Linked DNA regions of Homo sapiens: region 1 is linked to region 2. The links are contacts of gene promoters, found by promoter capture Hi-C in blood cells and fetal thymus (Javierre and others, 2016). All regions are on one chromosome and are shown on one strand. The core of a region is centred on a gene start or on the middle of the fragment in contact, and the rest is flanking DNA. Distances in the headings are between cores, read along the strand shown. Region 1 holds the start of C10orf105 (chromosome 10 open reading frame 105). Region 2 holds the start of PSAP (prosaposin).

Region 1 (6,766 bases), core at 1-2,500, 130 kb before region 2:
GGGTGAGGTGTGGAGCTGCTGTGAGCTGTCCTCCTCCGAGTCCAGGTGGCATCACCTCCAGCTGCTGGAAATGCCCTGCCTCTTGCCACTCTGTCACAGCACCCGCCCTGGCCTCTGAAGGGAGCCTCCTCGATCATCTTCAATCCCTTCCTGATTGATCCCAACGTGGGTGCCCTGAAGAGGGGCCACCAAGACGGCTGCCAAGACCATGCTTGGAGAGCCCTGTTTGCTCCTCCTCCCAGCTGGCACCCAGGCATCTGTTCCACCAGGAGGGAGGCAGCTGCTCCCACAGGGCACCAGGCAGATGCTGGCAGCACCCGGGAAACCCAAGGAAGAGAGCCCCGAGGTTTTGCCCCAGCACTGGGCCAGCACAGATGCCAGGACAGTGTCTTGGCCCCGGTGTAGGCTGAGCATTTCACTTGACTAAAGGGAACCTTTGCCATTTGGCAACTTCTCCATGCTGGGCTTTGGCACCTGGAGGGCAAGGCTTCTGTGGCGAGCGAGGGTGCTGCTTCTAGGAGGTGGTTACGAGCCCCAGGTTGTACCCTGTGGAGCCTCAGGCCAAAGGCCCAGATGACCACGAGTGCACATCTCTTGACCAGAAGTCTTTCATCAAGCAGCAGCGAGGGGGTCTGCAGAGAGGAAGGTGCTCTTCTGAGGATCATCTTTGGGAAAGGGCGCTGGCCTGGGCATGCAAGGAGCTTCGGGGGGTGAGTGTGTGTCCCAGACTGCTTGGGCCACTGTCTTCCTGCAGCCTGCAGCACCGGTCTCTGAAGCAGGAGGATCTACAGGTAGACCTAGGGGGATGTGGGGGCATGTTTGTGGACACCCCATTACATCTTGGTAGATTCCATGTAGTCACAGTGGCTGCGGTTGTCCTCGGGGCCCGGCAGGGGCTGTCGAGGGACGGTGGGCCGGCCATGGCGGAAGCTGTGCAGGGAGAGGCGCAAGGAGCCCAGGCGCTTCCAGAGCCGGAGCTGGGGCTCACTGGGGCTCCCAGGGTGGTGGGGCATGCACTCGTGAGCCCTGCGGCGGCTCGGGTCCAGCGCGGCCGGCTTGCAGAGCGTCATGAACAGCAGACAGGTGGCCAGCAGGAGGAAGATGCAGGCCAGGGCGATGAGCATGGGGAGGGGGTCAGTTGCCTCTGCAAGGGTCCCGGGAGTGACGGGAGCTGAGAGAAAGGCGAGGGGGCTGATGGCTGGGGAGCTGGCGAGGCTGGGGCCCTCTGTGCTCATGGCTCCTGCAACAGCAACAAGACAGAAGCTCAAAGGCAGATCAGCTGGACCCAGGGCAGCGGGTATAGGGAAGACTTACCTAGGGAATGTGGATGGGGGCAAGGCACTGTTAAACTGGACAGCATCATGGCCACATCACAGGTTAAGACAGCAAGGTCCAGAGACATCACAAGTCTAAGTGTACACACAGCTGAGCAGTGATGGAGCTGGGCCCAAGCTCAGGCCCTCTTCCTGTTCCACCCTGTGCCCATCTGCCATGCAGACAAGAGGGCGGTGGCCTGTCCGCATTTTCAAATCAATCCTCATGAATCATCACAGGGTCTTAGGCCTGGAAACTTAAGACCAACTCTGTCAATAACTTGCTCTGTGGCCAGGAACGAGTTATGGATGGTAAGAGGCCGCAGCTGCCAGGGTCCCTAGCAGTAATCTAATACCAAAGCTGCAAACTGGGGGCCCACGGGTGTGTTTAGTTGGGTCCTTGCCATGTTTTTATCAATGTAATTATGAATATTTTCAAAATAATAACAGATTTCACAAAAATATATGGGTGCCTGAATTCTCTTGAAATGTCAGAATTTCACCACTGGCATTGGCCCATGTTCCTGCCTCATCCCTGTGTCTGGGGCTGAGCAGCCGCTGCCCCCTGTAGACAGGGCACTGACCTCCAGCTCCCCACCCTCCCCCACAGGCCCACCACACACCTTATTTCACCTGCCTGGCCCCGTGGGGATTCCTGTGACTGCTTCCCCATGCAGTCCAACTTGCTCCCACGACAGGTGGGAAACTGAGGTCCGAAGAGGGGATTTGGCATTAGGGAGCCAGTGAAGGTTTTAGAGGTGGGGAGTGACAAGCCAGAGCTCACTCCTTGGGAAGGCTTGGCTGGCTGCATTGTGGGTCACAGTAGGGTGGGGTGGGGCAGCTTGGTGGTGGGAAGGCCAAGGCCACATTGTGAGCCAATGGCCAAGTGAAGGTCAGAAGCAGGTCTCCTGACTCCTGGCCCCATGGCCTTGCCACCCCTCTGGCCCCCAGCCCTTTCGGAGCTCAGTGAGCTGCTCTGGGAACAGGTGGGAAATAAACCCACAAGGAGTTGACAAGGGGGCTGGAAACCCCCCAGGGACATCATACACCTGACAGGGCATTTCCTTTCCCACTGAAGATCATCCCATTAGACGCAGTGCAGCAGACGGTCCTTGTCGATGGAAAACCAGGCTGAGCTTTTGGCTCAATATGTCTGGGGTTGTAATAAAAATGCTCACAGATCCTGGCCAGCAGATAACACATGACCAGAGGGTACAGATGAGCAGGGCCACCTGGAGAGCACTGGCTGGGCCCTCTCAAGGAAGTGGAGGGGCCTCAGCCCAGAATGGTGCTGTCAGTGCCGGAGTGCAGGCCCAGTGTGGTCAGCTCTGTCAGTTTCCCAAGAGAAGCCAGAAATCTGGATTTTTTTAAAGGCAAACATTCTAGACGTTTAAATGTTGGCAGCTAATTCAAATTTGTTGAAGGCAAGAAAGAAGAGAGGTGGGGTGGGGGAGAACACAGCAAAAGCCAAATAAACTTGATTTCAAAATAATGTGAAATGAATTTTCAAATATTTGAAACACTACACAGGCCAAACCAAACACATAAGCAGAGGACGTCCAGCTTGCAGGTCAGCATGTGTGATATTTAAATTCTACTGACGTGGACAAGCAATCCCAGGGGGTCTGATAAAAAGTCATGATTTCCCTTTAACCTTGGGGTCTTTCCTTTTCATGAGGGTGGGGGATAGCAGATTTTCCTCCTTCCCAGCTTGCAGCTTAGATAACAGTTGAGTTTCTAGCACGGAAGCTCAGGAGGAGGAAAGATGTCAGGTCACGCTCAGAGAAACCCTGCCACAGGTAGTGGGGAGGGGAGTGGGCCACCTAGTTCCCCACCCGAGGGACTCCTGTCCCTACCCCAGGCACTCACCAGCAGCCGCAGGACCTCACTCCTGGCTCCCTGCGCCCAGCCAACTGAGGGCATGCAGAGCACCCCACCTCCCACCCATTCCCCACCACCACCCCTCCCAGCACTTCCAGGCAGAAAACGACCCCTCCCAGTGCCTGGCTGGAAAGTGTGATGCCCGTCTAGCTGCCCAGGGCCTCCGCCTTTGCGGCATCAGGCCTAGAGAGCACTCTGGCTGGGCAGCTGTGCATGGGTTGGCCTTTCCTTGAGTCTGAGCAGGGAGGAGGGATGGGGTGTGCCCACCGCTCATTCCCGTGGGGAGAAAATCAGCCATCCCTCTCTCCTACCCTGGACAATGCTTGGCCAGGAGTAAGAAAAGGGCAGTCTGAAATGGGAGATGCCTCAATCCTACTAGTTCTAATGTTATTTCAAGGCCTTCAAAGGAATCTGGAGACCCTACTGGGCTAGCAAATAGGATCCAGGCTTCAGGCCTTGGGACCTGCTTTAATTTAAAAAATAAGTGAGGCCAGGCGTGTTGGCTCTCACCTGTAATCCCAGCACTTTGGGAGGCCAAGGCAGGAGGATCACTTGAGCCCAGGAGTTTGAGAACAGCCTGGGCAACATAGTGAGTCTTCATTTCTGAAAGAAAAAAAAAAAAGGTTTTTTAATTAGCCAGGTGTGGTAGTATGTGCCTGTGGCCCCAGCTACTCAGGAGGCTGAGGCAGAAGGATCATTTGAGCCCAAAAGTTTGAGGCTACAGCGAGCTAGAATCATGCCACTGCGCTACAGCCTGAGCGACAGAGCAACACTCTGTCTCAAAAAAATAAAAAATAAAAAAAAAATAAGTGGAGTTGTAATTAGCATCTGAGTAGTTCCTGTGGCAACGAGAGATTCCTAAGTGCTTGAAAACAACACAACACCCTTCCTGGAGCACGAGGCAAGTCCAGCTGCCAGGCCCCTTGACACCCGGCTACTGACCAACCAGCAAAGGCCAGCTAGTACTGGGAGAGGATGCCTTGCCCGGACCAAGGCCAGGAATCATCTGGAGGGCAGTTGAAGCCACTCCCTTCCCACTGGGGCCAGGGTGCACCAGCGGGCCCTGCTCTGGACATATCTCTGCAAGCTCAGTCTAGGACCCTCCTCTTCCCTTGGAGTTCCACAGAGCAGGACCTGCTGTGGGCAGAGAAGACTGCTGTGTGGCCTCGGGCTAGTCCCTACCCCTTACTGGGCCTTGTTTCCCCTCTCTACAGAACCAGAGGACTGCCTAGGTCTGAGCATACCCTCACATTCTCCCAGGAGTCCCCAGCAAGGGTCTCCACCACACTTCCCTCTCCAAGCCTTCTCCTGCAGTCCCCCAAGCACTGACCTCAGAGCCAGACCCCAGCCGTCCGGAGCTCCGTGGAGAGGTCTTCTCAGCTGTGGAAGGGAGGCCCAAGGAGCCCTGGGCAGTGCCTGTGACCCCAGCCCTGCCAGGCTCTGCTGTGCCCTGCAGCCCTCGGTCAGCCTGGCCAGCAGAGTGGCCTCCCCGTCACTCCCCAGCTGGACCTGGCTTTGTCTAGAAGAGTTTGGGCCCTGCCTTGGGGGAGGGGATAGCTAAGGGAGTAGGGATGGCAACTGGGTTGGGAAGAGGGAGAGGGGAGCTGTCCAGAGACTCTGGGATGCCCCCTGGCCTTCCCACCGCCTCTCTCCAGCCTGTCTCCTTGGAGCCCTCTCAGGGGTGGAAGACTCTGGGGAGACGCAGGGGGAGGGTTTTACTGCCTCTGCGGCCCCATGGCGCTCACCTTCCCCTGTCGGAAGTTTGAATGGTATGGTCGGCGGCAGCCAGAGGTTCGCTATTCAGTGCCTGCCAGCCACCAGGTTACCCTGGAGAGGGGCTACAAGCCATGGCAGGAGGGGAGCAGGGAGAGTGCTGGTCCCTGGCAGCCCCTGAGGCCCCTCCTGCAGCGTCCCTGGGCCCCATTCCTTCCAGGCTTTTCCCTCAGCTTGTAGAAAAGCACCTTCCCTTTGAAGGTGTCTGGCTACAGAAGCGAGGGGTGAGGGGCATCTTCAAAGGTCAGGGGGATCCCAGGGCAGAAAGCATAGGACTGACGGACCTCCAAGGCCATGCTCCCCACAGTGCGGGTGGGCCACGGGAGACCTCCACTGGAGGCTCTTTCCAAAACACACACACACACACACACACACACACACTTCCCTCCCCCAGCCTTCTTTCTCCCCAGAAGCCAGAGCTTCCCTGACAACCAGCTGCCTGCTTAGGAGCCCAAGTCTTTGGCAGCTTCCCCACCAGGGACCTCCAAGCTCCCAGAAATGCAACTCAAGACAGGAGTCATGGCCCTGTCCAAGACCTGAGCCTCAGACCCATTCCCTTTTTTGGAGCCCCAGTTTCTGGTTTTTAGCTGTTCCCTCCTGCCCTTGCCCATAAAAAGAGGCACTGTCTGCCAACCCCAAGATGGACAAGAGATTTCCTATGGACTGTTAAAGCTGGAGAGGTCCTCAGGGGTCATCTAACTCCTCTTCTGAGAGAAAAGAGCCCCCGTCTTCTCTCAGATGACCAAACTGAGGCCCAGAGAGGTGTGACCTGCCCAGGGGCACCCAGCAAGTGAGTGGTGGGGGACTTGGTGTTTCCCCTGTGCTGGGTGGGCAGGGGCAGGCAGTAGGCATCCAGGGTAGGCAAAGCATCCGGCCCAAAGGTGTTTTCAATGCCCAGAGTCCCCATTGGGATTCCTGCACCTTCCATCACAGCATTCACTGCCTTCATTTTCCTTAACTTCCTCTCCTGAAACCAACTGAACACTTCATCTGTGGCCCCCATTCCTCCTGAGATGACAGAAGACAAAGCTTCCAGGGTGGTGCAGGCTGCTGGAGCAGGGAGGCATCAAGGAAATCTCACCATGGATAGGCATGCAAGGGCATGCTCTGGGCAACGTGGCTCTCTTCACCATCCTGAGCCCTTCCAGATCTGGACAATTGAAGCACCCTGTTACATCCCTCCACCTGCCAGCTCCTAAGGTTTCTCAGGGAATGGAGAGAGAAAGAACTGCACGGCAAGGGGCAATCCAGCCATCCCCAGCTCTGGCATAAATCCAGAGGGCTCTCTGGAGAAGGTGGCATCACTCATGTTGACCTTCACCACACATCCCCATGCTAGGCACCAGCCAAGACGCTTTGCAAGATGACTTCTGATCTTCCCCTCAACCCTGCAAGGCTGGTCATCATTGTGCCCAGTCTAGAGATGAGAAAACTGAGGCTCAAGGGGGCTAAAGTACTTATCCATAGTGCCATAGAGAGTAAGTGACAAAGCCTAAATTCATGCTTGGGTGTGCCTGACCCAGGGCCCTTGTTCTTTTTGCTCCAGTGTACTCGTCCTCCTCCCCACCATCAACATGCTCATCAGAATCCTTAGACACACTTACCGCAGTGCCCGGATGTGCATCGAGGCCAGCGCCTGCTACAGGCTCCTCGCTCTGCCTTCATACCACCATGTCTATACTCCCTGTCCTGTGGAGGTTCCAGGGCATCAGTGCTGCTGATTGAGGCTGTCATTCCACTCTTCCAACCACAGCCCTCTGCTGTCCCTGCATGAGCCCTTCACTCCAGACTGGGGTCCT
Region 2 (6,907 bases), core at 3,645-6,144:
TAGTACTTTTGCAACAGCCAAAATCTTCATCCCAATCACTGTATTTATCATCATTGTTTTAAAGCCCTTAAAAAAAAAAAAAAAAAAGCCAGGTGCGGCGACTCACGCCTGTAATCCCAACACTTTGGGAGGCCGAGGCAGACAGATCACTTGAGGTCAGGAGTTTGAGACCAGCCTGGCTAACATGGCAAAACCCTTTCTCTACTAAAAATACAAAAATTAGCCAGGCATGGTGGCAGGTGCCTGCAATCCCAGCTATCAGCTACCTGGGAGGCTGAGGTATGAGAATCACTTAAACCCGGGAGGTGGAGGTTGCAGTGAGCTGAGATGGTGCCACTGCACTCCAGCCTGGGCAACAGAGTAAGACCCTGTCTCAAAAAAAAAAAAAAAAAAAAAAAAAGGCAAGCAGGGCAATGTAATTCTAATTAGTACTCTCTTTCATTGATCTGAAGAATATCCAGACCCTCCTTCCTGGTGGCAGAACCAAAAAGGAGCCAGAAAGCAAGGCTTACAGCCTGGTAGCCAGTAACCTAGAATCTCTGCTAGAAGCTGCCTCCAAAGCTGCCATGCACACCTGTCTAAGTGGCTTTGGTCTTGGCCTTGAGAACTTCCTAAGCATGCCTCATTAGGTGCTGTTCCCAGCCAGCAACACCCCGCCCTACCCTTCCACTTCCCCACAGCTGCCTGGACATCCCATGGTCTCACTCACCAAGAAAATGGAAGACCAAGTTCTCCTTTCCCTCATCTACAAAATGCCACACCAATCAATCCAACACACTTCAACTCTCATAGTTTGTTCTCAAAACAACCTGTCAGGGCCGGGTGCGGTGGCTCACACCTGTAATCCCAGCACTTTGGGAGGCCGAGGCAGGCGGATTACTTGAGGTCAGGAGTTCAAGACCAGCCTGGCCAACATGGTGAAACCCCATCTCTACTAAAATACAAAAAATTACCTCCCATTTACCCGAGTGTTCAGGGAAGAGGGTCCTTTGGTCAACTAAATATTGTGGTTAACCATAAGCCCATATATACCAGAGGTGGATTTTATAGGCATGGTGGTGGGCACCTATAATCCTAGCTACTCGGGAGGCAGAGGTGGGAAAATCGCTTGAACCCGGAAGGCGGAAGTGGCAGTGAGCCGAGATCGCGCCACTGCACACCAGCCTGGGGACAGAGCAAGACTCCCATCTCAATAACAACCTGTCAGGCTTCTCCCTTTCGGATGCCTCTCTCTCACAAGAGAGAGCTGCTCTCCTTTCTCCTTTCTTCTGCCTATTAAACTTTCTGCTCCAAAAAAAAAAAAAAGAAACAAAACAACCTGTCAAATGTACTTCAAGGACTTGACAAATCACTGATTTGTTAAAACAAACCCTTCTTTCTTCAGGAATTATACTCTTATTTTCACAGAATAAAACTGATTTACTATTAATAAACAGGAGATTTATCCAAAATCCCTGACAGGCCAAGACCTGAAGTTCCTACTGATATTCAGCAGGCCAGGCTATAAATTCACATGTTATTGAAAGAATATATATAACACCTTCTAGCATCCCCAGAAAACATAACTGTCTTAGCGTGGTGTAGACAACATTCAGCAGGCTAGCCACCACACAGCTGACAGCTATCAGGGCATCTAAGCTTCAGGGAGCACCTGCCACATCCCAGGCACCATCCCTCATGCCTTACACCTAGCTGATGAACACGCTCCTTTTTCCACCAGAGGACTCACCTAACAGCAATACCCTCCATGATCCCATTTGTAAAAGATCGAAACTGCAGCCTTCACATCTATGGTGTTCAAAGGTTAACAATGTTTCCTTCGGGGCAAGTGGGACAGGGCAGTGAATGGGTGAACAGGGGCCTCTGGATGCTACTGCACTGCTCCCCAACCTCGGGGGCTGCTCACTTTGTGGTAATTCATCAAGTTGTCTACTTAATCGTCCACGTATGTAACTTACACTAAGTTTTTAAAAGTTAAGAGGTCCATGTGGACAGAGGGATATGGAAAAAGCGAGCACTGTGGAGTCTTGGGTTCTGGTCCTGGCATCCCCAGTAAATGGTCTATGATTTGGGAGAGTCACCTCTGGGCACCTCCAGGTCTTCATTCCTTACAAAGGGGTCAGATTACATGCTCTCCAATTCTCTCATGGTGCCATGGCTTTGCTTTCGCTTTTAGGTGGGGAAAAAGGAGGGGCAGCTGGATGGGCAGAAAAGTAACTCAAAAGCAAGTGTCTCTACCACCAGGACATCACTGAAACACAAAATACAAAGCCCATCCCGATTCAGGGTGGCATTCTGTACTACGACAGTGTCACGAAGAAAGTTCTAAGTGCCTCTCGGGCAGCAGACAATGGCTGCAGTCACCAGGCACTTTCACTAACAAAACTCATTATCATGTCTAGAAATTTTAGGAGTAACATTTTCACAATATCACAAAGGGGCCAGAGCTGTGAAGGCCAGGGAGCATTCAAACACTGTTATCAGCACTGACTTTGGCCTAATCCTAAAGGTAGGACAGCAAAGTTAAACCAAGGCCATTACAATACCTCCCATTTACCCGAGTGTTCACGGAAGAGGGTCCCTTGGTTAACTAAATATTGTGGTTAACCATAAGCCCATATATACCAGAGGTGGATTTTATATTTCCCGAGACACGATTGAGTCCCTTTTGGGTGATGTGAATGAATCAGAACTCTTAAGGGTCTTGTGAGGAGTGACTCAACGTCAACAAGAACAATGGATAATGTAAAAAGAAAGAAAAAAAATTGCCCTGAATCAGTATAAAAAATTTAGAGACCAGCATTAGTTTATTATACAGACCATGGAATAACTGCAGTATAAGCTTGAGTATAAAATCAAAATGATTTTTTTATAAGCAGATCATCTTTCATTGTGTACAAGTAAAACAAATTTAAGAGCTTCGTATAGGGTCAAGATACATTCTTGAGAGCTGCTGAAAGCTAACTCATTTCTTCGGTTTTGCATCAACCCTGTCATCCACTTTGTTACTTTTTATTAAAATTTGGGTAGCTAGGTTAAAAATGGCAGCCAGCCCTTAAACTACATATAGTTACTAAAAAACAGACATTGTGGTGGGGGCTGGGTGCGGTGTCTCACGCCTGTAATCCCAGAACTTTGGGAGGCTGAGGCGGGAGAATGGCTTGAACCCGGAAGGCGGAGGTTGCAGTTAGCCGAGACTACGCCATTGCACCACTCCGGCCTGGGCAACAACAGCGAAACTCCGTCTCAAAAAACAAACAAACAAACAAAACAAACAAACAAAAAAAAAACGGCCAATAGCGTGCAAGACTTTCTTTTCTCTTTTTCTTTTTTTCACAGGTGGGGTCTTGCTATGTTGCCCAGGCTGGTCTCCAACTCCTAGGCTCAAGCGATCCTCCCACCTCGGTGTCCCAATGTGCTGGGATTACAGGCATAAGCCACCGCACCCAGATGCAAGACATTTCAAAGCAAGTGAAATGAGGACCCCATGGCAAAATAACTGGACCAGAAAACCCTATATCGCCTTCAATACCTATGAGAATTAAGCTCCGATTTTTTTTAGCTTGCCCAAATTCCTATCTAAGGGGTGTAGGAATCATACCCTACAAACCATAAACTCTCATCAGATGGGTTTTATTTGACCCCATATATCGTGACTTACTTTCCAATCTGACTCTGGCATAACATTTTATAAGACAAGGAAAAAAAAATCAAAATATCTAACCCCAAAATATATTTCCTTGCCATACCTTGAAATTGCCCTGCAAAGTCTCTTGTGGGAAAAATCCACATTCTATAGAGAATCCCCTTTCCCCTATGTTTTCCTTCCTTCCTCTCCAGATCCAGGAGATAATCAACTAAGAGCCAGTCACCCTTTCATTTCCATAGAAATATTTTACAACGTGCTCGCTCTCTTAGTCGGCTACCTGAGAGCTTCCTCTGCACAATAAAACTTGGTCTCCACAATCCTTTATCTTAACTTGAATACTTTCTTTCTATTGATTCTAGGTTTTCAGATAAACTCAACCAATTATCAACTAGAAAATGTTTAAATTTACCTATGGCCTGGAAGCCCCCCGCCGCTTTGAGTTGTTTCGCCCTTCTGAACCAAACCAACGTATTTCTTAAATGTATTTGATTGATGTCTCGTGCCTCCCGAAAATATGTAAAACCCAGCTGTATCCCAACCACCTTAGGCACATGTTCTCAGGACCTCCTGAGGGCTGTGTCACGGGCCATGGTCACTCATATTTGCCTCAGAATAAATCTCAAAATATTTTTACAGAGTTTGACTCGTTTTGTCAACACCTAGAATCCAGAGTAAATACATATGCAAACGTCAATATAGATGATACACATGTGCTTCCTGCAGCTTCGCTACCCTTACAAACAGGCAACTGAAGCCAACGGCCAAAGTGTCCTGCGGGACGGGGCTCCAGCCCACCTCGATCACGTGCGCCCAGCACAGGCACAACACAGCTGCCCAAGGGGTCACCCTACAAGACTCACCCACCCCCACAGTGGGAAGCGCAGCCTGAGGGAAGGCCTCGGGGCCCCAGCCGCGCAGGAACCCACTCGAGCCCCGAAGGAGATGCTGCCCAGGGCCTGGGCCGTCCTCCCGGGGGCATTTTCGCAGCCCGCCCCCCGCAGCCCCCAGCCGCCCAGAGAAAGCCAGAGAAAGCCAGCGAACGCGCCTGCGCAGTGCGCGCGCCCCCTTGCCAACTAGGGCAGGGGGAGCAGAGGGGCCAGGCCCGGCACAGCCCATTCTGGGGCAGATGGACGCTGCGAGGCACCTCCTCCCCAGGATGAGGGTCCCAGGGCTTACCCGCGCCCAGGAGGCTGGCCAGGAGGAAGAGGGCGTACATAGCGCCGTCTGACTCCGCAGTCTGCAATGCGGAGCGTCAGCTGATCCCCCGCAGATATAAATCTGCCCTGCCCCAAAGCCGTCCAGAGCGCAGGCGCTAACCCCGCCCCATCCGGGCCTGCCCGAGCTCAACAGCGCCCTGACTCAGCGCCTCTGAGGGCGCCTGCGCGAAGGGGAGGCCAATAGGAGGGGGCAATGGGAGGGGCGAAAGGAAGGGCTATGGGGAGGAGTGAGGAAGAACTTGGAGAAAGGGAAGGGAAAGGTCATAAAAGAAAAGCCCTACTAATTGAATAGGTCAGAGATTATATATGTAAAATACCTTTTAAATCTCCACATTGTTGGCCGGCCGCGGTGGCTGACGCCTGTAATCCCAACACTTGGGAGGCCGAGGCGGGCGGAGGGTTCAAGACTAGCCTGGGCAACGTGGTGAAACCCCATCTCTACAAAAAAAAAAATACAAAAAAATTAGCCCATTGTAGTAGCGGGTTTCACATAGAATAGCTTGGGGTTTCACATAGAATAAGTAGTCGTGTAACAGGGTACAGGGCTCAGTCCTGGCCAGGGGCACGTGGGGGCAGGTGGTGGCACCTGGTCAAAGGCAAGTCTGGGCTGGGCATGCTGGCTCACTCCTGTAATCCTAACACTTTGGGAGGCCGAGGCGGGCGGATCATGAGGTCAGGAGTTCAAGACCAGCCTGGCCAATATGGTGAAACCCTGTCTCTACTAAAAATACAAAAATTAGTCAGGCGTGGTGGCGCTCGCCTGTGGTTCCAGCTATTTCAGGAGGCAGAGGCAGGAAAATTGCTTAAACCCGGGAGGTGGAGGTTGCCGTGAGTCAAGATCGCACTACTGCACTGCAGCCTGGACCACAGAGCGAGAGAGATTCCCATCACCAAAAAAAAAAAAACAAAAAACTTTTAAGCCTCACATTGTGGTACCGTTAAAGATGTAATACCATTCCTCACCCATCATAAGAGATCATAAGAGTCACAACCAACACTCCTGTAACGAGACAGCTTAAGAGAAAAGCATAACAAATTTATGTAATCAACGTTTTATGTGACATGGAAGCCTTCAGAAATTAAGACCCAAAGACCCTCTGCCTGTGGCTGCCCCTGCCAGGACCTGAACAGAGAATGATGATGACCCTCTCCAGAAGGATAAGAACCTGCCAACCGCAAGGCAGGGAAAGGAGGGGAATCTTAGCCCCTTAGGGCAGGCACTTAGAGGTCATTTACCTGTAGGGACATTGAGCCTAGGAGAGGGCAAGACGTTTATCCAAGGTCACACAACAGGTAGAGATAGAACCTGGCCCGAAGCCAGGTTTCCTGACCCAGGAAGGGCAAACCTACAGTTCCTCCAACTTCCTCCAATCTGCAATCCGCTCTGGAGAACAACCCCAGGGACTAAGGCCTCAGAACCTTCAGTTCTGCTCCCCTGCAATCTCCCTAAGTGCCCCCAGCCCCCACCACAGCTCTGACTTCCTCTGGGGAGCCAGATGGGGAAGTGTGCCCCATGCACCACAGTGGGCCATGTGAGGCAGCTGAGTGAGTTGGGACAAGATGTGGTCTCAACTGGACGCCTCACAGGTCGGCCTCAGTGGCCAGATGGAGACTTCGTGGCTGCTCCACCTTTGGGCTTCCCAAGGCCAGGCAGAAGCGTGGGGCAGACCACACAACAACTGGTTAAAAGCAAGGGAGCTAGCCGGGCGCGGTGGCTCACGCCTGTAATCCCAGCACTTTGGGAGGCCGAGGCAGGCAGATCACGAGGTCAGGAGATCGAGACCATCCTGGCTAACAGGGTGAAACCCCGTCTCTACTAAAAATACAAAAAATTAGCCGCACGATGTGGCGGGCGCCTGTAGTCCCAGCTACTCGGGAGGCTGAGGCAGGAGAATGGCGTGAACCCGGGAGGCGGAGCTTGCAGTGAGCCGAGATCGTGCCACTGCACTCCAGCCTGGGCAACAACAGCGAAACTCCGTCTCAAAAAAAAAACAAACAAAAAAAGCAAGGGAGCTGGGGCTCTAGGACAAATCCCCCATCC

Evidence for each region. The method cuts DNA at HindIII sites, captures the fragments that hold promoters and counts their contacts. A CHiCAGO score of 5 or more calls a contact.
Region 1: a contact is called between a fragment that was not itself captured here and the fragment with the promoter of PSAP in region 2, in 1 of 17 cell types (neutrophils). The highest score is 5.1, in neutrophils.

What each region holds. Positions count from the first base shown.
Region 1 is chr10:71,715,103-71,721,868 of GRCh38, forward strand. All of the region lies in intron 28 of CDH23 (cadherin related 23), which reads left to right. C10orf105 (chromosome 10 open reading frame 105) reads right to left here and starts at 4,676. Exons shown (of 2, transcript NM_001164375.3): 1 at 4,525-4,676; 2 at 1-1,240. The coding sequence starts at 1,235. The coding sequence ends at 834. RefSeq lists a silencer at 1,951-2,148 and an enhancer at 4,065-4,813. The HindIII fragment of the contact is 9,488 bases long and covers 1-5,994 here.
Region 2 is chr10:71,846,357-71,853,263 of GRCh38, forward strand. It overlaps PSAP (prosaposin), which reads right to left and starts at 4,895. Exons shown (of 14, transcript NM_002778.4): 1 at 4,826-4,895. The coding sequence starts at 4,865. RefSeq lists enhancers at 3,154-3,653, 4,045-4,575, 4,576-5,106. The HindIII fragment of the contact is 9,568 bases long and covers 2,841-6,907 here.